Linked DNA regions of Homo sapiens: region 1 is linked to region 2. Evidence: promoter capture Hi-C in 16 types of primary human blood cells and fetal thymus (Javierre and others, 2016). All regions are on one chromosome and are shown on one strand. The core of a region is centred on a gene start or on the middle of the fragment in contact, and the rest is flanking DNA. Distances in the headings are between cores, read along the strand shown. Region 1 overlaps FLJ12825 (a long non-coding RNA gene). Region 2 holds the start of SMUG1 (single-strand-selective monofunctional uracil-DNA glycosylase 1).

Region 1 (2,780 bases), core at 197-2,696, 120 kb after region 2:
ATGCCTTATGGGTTAGATATACAGTAGATAATCATAGAAATGGAAGGGATTTTTCCCCCTCTGGAATAGTTTTATATCCTCTGGACATACAGGGGGCCCCATGAAGTACTTCTACACTGGTTTCTATAGTGGCTGACCCAAATGCACGTATATTATCAGAATTTCCATCCCCCTGATTTAAGTTTTACTGGCAGCCTCTGTGATTTTTTGGTGTGATAACTACCCTCACCACTTAGAGTCCACCCATTTCCCAGGACTAGAAATATACTCATAATTGCAGGCATCTGGTTTCTAGGGGAGTCCCTGAGTTCCCACTTCCTCAGGCAGAATCTAGCTTTCCCACAAGGATCAGGCAATGTGAAACTGAGAAGTATCTAGAGATTAATCTTCAGGGCCCCTCATCTCCCTAAGCATACCCCCTAAGCACTACTTTTCTGATTCTATCCTTGTTTGATGAAGTATCCCAGTGGTGCTTTTGTATTTTAAAGGATGTGATCTGCAGAGGACTGTACTTAACACCATGTGCTTTAATGGTGGAACTTAAGGCTTTTTTGTGGCAGGATAATTGGGGAGGGGGAAACAGATCCTTCCCAGGGGCTTTAAACTGAATCACTGCAAAAGGCTGATCCTGCATCTCATTATCCATTACATCAGATGAAAGCTACAAAATTGGATCCCTTTATTCTATTTGAAACTAAGCAGATAGTGGGCTGATTTCTCTGTTTTCACCTGGCTATTGGCATCATGCAGACACCCTTTCCAACTTCCTGCCCCATCTTGTTTCTGCCTCTCTTCCCTCAGGGGCAGGGTCCTTAAGGGAAACAGCTCCCCATAGTGTGTCTGCAGGGGCTCTGTGGAAAAGGTTGAGTTGTCAAATAAGGAGACACCACAGCTAACACCCCCTACTCCCCCACCCCCCACCAACTCTGGAATGAAGATGGAGAGTTTTCTGTGCCTGGTTTGGTTCACAGAGACACATAGTCCATCATCTGATTTGCTACAAAGAGTATTCCTTCTCCCTGCCCCCCAGCATCCTTCAGTTTTTGCTTAGAGTCTCAGAGCTGGAAGGATCTTAGTGATAACCTAATCAAACCACTTCATTGTGAAGGAAGAGAAACTGAGGCTCAGACAGAGATCAGAACCCAGGTGTTCTGATCCCTGAACCAGTACTAGTCCCAGCACCATGCTGACTCTGGCTCTGTGTGTTTCAGCTGGATATTTTTGGAGTTGCTCCCTCCAAACCCCAGAATCCAAGCTTGCTCTCCATGGCAGGGAGAGTCACCAACCATCATAATAAGATGGACCCTTCTTCCTGGTTGTGGCCACTTTTTGGCACAAGCCTCATCATACACCATGCCCCATAATCCCACTGGAGCCATCTGTGATCTCTGCGATATTAGAGGGCTTCTCCCCTCTCCCTGCTTCTGTACCACATTACATATCAACTCACCTTAATCCATTTTCTAGAGCTGGCCAGGGCCCAGATAAGGGGCTGAAGGTCTTAGGACAGACAACAACGGGGTAAGGGAAGTTTTTGCCTCTAAATTCCCCACCTCCAGCCTCAGATGAGGAGAGAAAGAGGCTCTCTTGAATAAAAAAATTTCCTTAAGATCTTGTCAAGGCTTCTTCAAGCTTCAAGGGAGAAAACCTCTCTTATTGGATGAGTTTTATCTTACTGTCCAACGCTGAGGACTGGAGGCAAGGGATAGGGGTTTGAGCTTGGCCTGAAGAATCTGAATACACATAAGAAAGAATATATCAGTGATGAGAGCTCTCAGACAGTTGTGTTCTCTGAACATACCAGGTAAGTTCTCCTCCATCTGAGATGGCTAAGTTAACCTCACTGAGTTCTTTCCAGTTCCAAGATTCTGGTTAGAAACTTCCATTTCCCAGTGTTTGGTGGTCAGCCTAATCCCGGATTCCCCAGCCCATGCTCACTCAGTTTCCCAATGGGCCTTGGCTCCAGGAAACAGTTTTCAATTTCACGTTGGCTCTAAACAGCTTCCCCATCCCTAAGAAACATAACAAAATTGAGCCAACTTAAGAATAGGATCCACCAGATGACTTAGTCTGACATGGGCACAATGGCAGCGGACTAGGAATCCAGAGTCATGGTGTCAGTTAAGGGCTGAATTGTGTCTCCGCAAGTTCCATTTCTTGAAGTCCTAACCCTCAGTAACTCAGAATGTGACTGTATTTGGAGATAGGCCCTTTAAAGAGGTAATTAAGTTAAGGCAAGATTATATGGGTAGGCTCTAATTAAATATAACTACTGTCCTTATAAGAAGAGATCAGCAGGCCAGGTGCGATGGCTCATGCCTGTAATCCCAGCACTTTGGGAGGCCGAGGTGGGCGGATCACCTGAGGTCAGGAGTTCGAGACCAGCCTGACCAACATGGTGAAACCGTGTCTCTACTAAAAATACAAAAATTAGCCAGGCATGGTGGCTTGCGCCTGTAATCTCAGCTACTTGGGAGGCTGAGGCAGGAGAATCTCTTGAACCTGGGAGGTGGAGGTTGCAGTGAGCTGAGATCGTGCCATTGCACTCCAGCCAGGGCAACAAGAGTGAAAATCCATTTCAAAAAAAAAAAAAAAGAGATTAGGACACAGACAAAGCAGAGGGAGACAACAGACATCTACAAGCCAAGGAGAGAGGCCTCAGAAGAAACCAACTCTGCTAACACCTTGATCTTGGACTTCTAGCCTCCAGAACTATGAGAAAATAAATTTCTGTTGTTTAAGCTGTCCATGCTGTGGTTCTTGTTATGGCAGTCCAAGCA
Region 2 (2,742 bases), core at 7-2,506:
ACAGAACCAGACCCAGATAGAGCACAAGAACAAAACTAGGAATAGGACAGATTTGGACATAGATATTGGGATGGGGGAATGGTGGGGGAATGGACTGTTAGGTGCAGCCATGGGATGAGGATTGATCAGGGAAGCCTTCCTGGACAAAGTATTTGAGGGAGAAGATTTGGATGGAAGAGTGATAGCTAACTTTATGTGTCTACTTGAGTGGTCTAAGGGACACCCAGATAGCTGGTAAAACATTATTTCTGGATATGTCTGTGGAGTGTTTCTGGAAGAGATTTGCATTTGAATTGGTAGACTAAGAAGATCACCCTCATTAATATGGGTGGGAACCATCCAATCCCTTGGGGGCCAGTAGAACAAAAGAGTGGAGGAAGGCAAATTCTCTTTCTTCATGAGCTGGGACATCTATTTTACCTGCCTTTGGACATCATTGGAGTTCCTGGTTCTTCGTCCTTCAGGCTCTGGGACTTAGCAGTGAGCCTCCTCCCCTGCTTTGGACTTTCCTGAATTATACCACCTGTTTTCCTGGTTCTCCAGTGTATAGACAGCAGAGCGGGAGACTGTGGGACTTCTTGGCCTCCACAATCCTGTGAGCCAATTCTTGGAATAAATCTCGTCATATAGATAGATATCCTGTTAGTTCTGTTCTCTGGAAAACTCTTGACTAATACTGAGGTTATAGGGTTGGGCAGATAGCAAGGCAGAGAAAGAAGTCAAAATGGTGACACTCTGGAGATGGGCTTGGACAGTAATGGGGGATGCCCCTTGCTAAAAAGTTGTTAGGAGCTACCAGAAATGTCTTCGTGGATGTTCTGTATAAGTAATGGCAGGCTGCAAAGGAGAAGTCTCTTATACCCACGGTGGCAGGGGGCCTAGCAATGGTCTTTAGCTATTGTTAATACCTTCAGGTGGGTGAGGGATTGGGGATGGTTGAAGCTTCCTGATTTGCAATCCCTTTGGGAAAATAGTGAATGAACTTTTGGAAGGGCGATGCCCTTTAGGGATAGAACCCAGGATTTCCTAGGTACTTACAGGCTGTGGCTTTTCACTTCTCAAGACTTCCTGATTTAACGCTGATGGAAAGATTAAACTACAATTCCCAGCGATCTTTAGGGCTAATTTAGTGCGCCTTCCGGGATTGGAGCATTTCCGGCGGAAGTGGCTGCGGGTACGCCAATCTCCTTCCCTAAACAATGTAGACTACGACTCCCACTGTCCTTAGCGCCGGGGGTTGGGTTTGGGGTGGGGGAAAGGAACCGGAAACGGGATGGGGAGCTGGACCAGGTGAGGAAGTAGGGGGCTGGGAATCCGGGACTGTGGGGGCAAGTTGACGGCTCCCAGGGTCGTCGGGGCTGAGCCGAGAGGGTGGTTAGAATTTCTATATTTTGGGGTCCCTCCCTCCGTATGGGGTAAGACTCAGTGCAGGGAGAGCCCAGCCTATGAAACCGCCTGGGAGGTCTGCAGGATCAAGGCTTTCCAGTCGGCCGGAGCCAGCGGGCGCCCCCGGAGGTTTTGTATGGTGCCTTAGTAGTCGGCCCCTTTGGAACCAGATGAAATGGTCTTTTTGAGTTTATGCTTTATTATTATTATTGTTTATTTATTTATTTTTCTGAGACGGAATTTTGCTCTGAATTCCAGGCTGGAGTGCAATGGCGCGATCTCAGCTCACTGCAGCCTCCGCCTCCCGGGTTCAAGCGATTCTTCTGCCTCAGCCTCCCGAGTAGGTGGGATTACAGGCGCGCGCCACCATGCCCAGCTAATTTTTGTATTTAGTAGAGACTGGGTTTCACCATGTTGGTCAGGCTGGTCTCGAAGTCCTGACCTCGTGATCCGCCCGCCTCGGCCTCCCAAAGTGCTCGGATTACGGGTGTGAGCCACCGCGCCCGGCCTATGCATTATTATTATTATTATTATTATTATTATTATTATTATTATTATTTATTATTATTATTATTATTATTATTATTTCGTTTAAGGATATTTATTATTGTCCCTGGACTCCCGGAGTGCCTCCAAAGGACAGGGGAGTGCATATGTGATTTCGATTCCTTCCTCACTTCCCGGATTTGATGTCAGAGAAGTCTGACATCAGTCTGAAGTCGGCCCTTGGTGGTCAGCCTTATCGCTTGGTCCAACTCCGCTGTCTTTGTGCTTAATGTAGTATGACACCGTATTTTATAAAATATCTACATTTCTTAAGCCTCTGGCTCTTGGGGCGACTTTGGGTAGAACTTACAAGTTCCTCCTTTGGGTTCTCTTAGTGTTTTGTTCCGGGTATTAAAGCTCACATCACACTGTATTACAGTTAGTTGTTTATTTGCCCTCACAGCAGATTATGAGCTTACAGAAAGCCTGGCCTACATTTTACTCTTTTTGGATTTCTTCCTCATCAAGAGACTGCTGCAGTGCCTGTCATGTAAGAGACTCATAAGTATTGAAAAAAAAAATGAGTTAACAGGTGGTAGGTTGGATGGAGTATGTGATTTTCCATAGAGAAGAGAGTTAAATGAGTTGCTCAAGAGAACCTTCTTAGAGATGAAACAGGAGTAGAATTCAAATCAATTGACTTCCAGCCTGTGGCTCTTGCTATGAGATCAGGCTTTGAAGTTATGGAACAATGAAAGTAGTATCTTGCCACTCTTTTCCCCAGCCTTGCTGTTTCCAACACAGGTGTCTAAATGTCAAAGGTGGGCTCAAGACTTCTCGAGATTCTAGAGCTGGAGCAGCCAATCTGCT

What was found. Contacts are between HindIII fragments. The CHiCAGO score rates a contact against its expected background, and 5 or more counts as called.
Region 1: a contact is called between a fragment that was not itself captured here and the fragment with the promoter of SMUG1 in region 2, in 2 of 17 cell types (total B cells and naive B cells). The highest score is 6.1, in total B cells.

Annotation. Positions count from the first base shown.
Region 1 is chr12:54,069,610-54,072,389 of GRCh38, reverse strand. All of the region lies in intron 1 of FLJ12825 (a long non-coding RNA gene), which reads right to left. Among named protein-coding and RNA genes, the nearest start is that of FLJ12825, 13 kb to the right of the region's middle. The HindIII fragment of the contact is 377 bases long and covers 1,258-1,634 here.
Region 2 is chr12:54,187,499-54,190,240 of GRCh38, reverse strand. SMUG1 (single-strand-selective monofunctional uracil-DNA glycosylase 1) reads left to right here and starts at 1,256. Exons shown (of 4, transcript NM_001243787.2): 1 at 1,256-1,290; 2 at 2,339-2,422. LOC105369777 (a long non-coding RNA gene) reads right to left here and starts at 1,144. Exons shown (of 3, transcript XR_944984.2): 1 at 1,039-1,144. The HindIII fragment of the contact is 2,636 bases long and covers 945-2,742 here.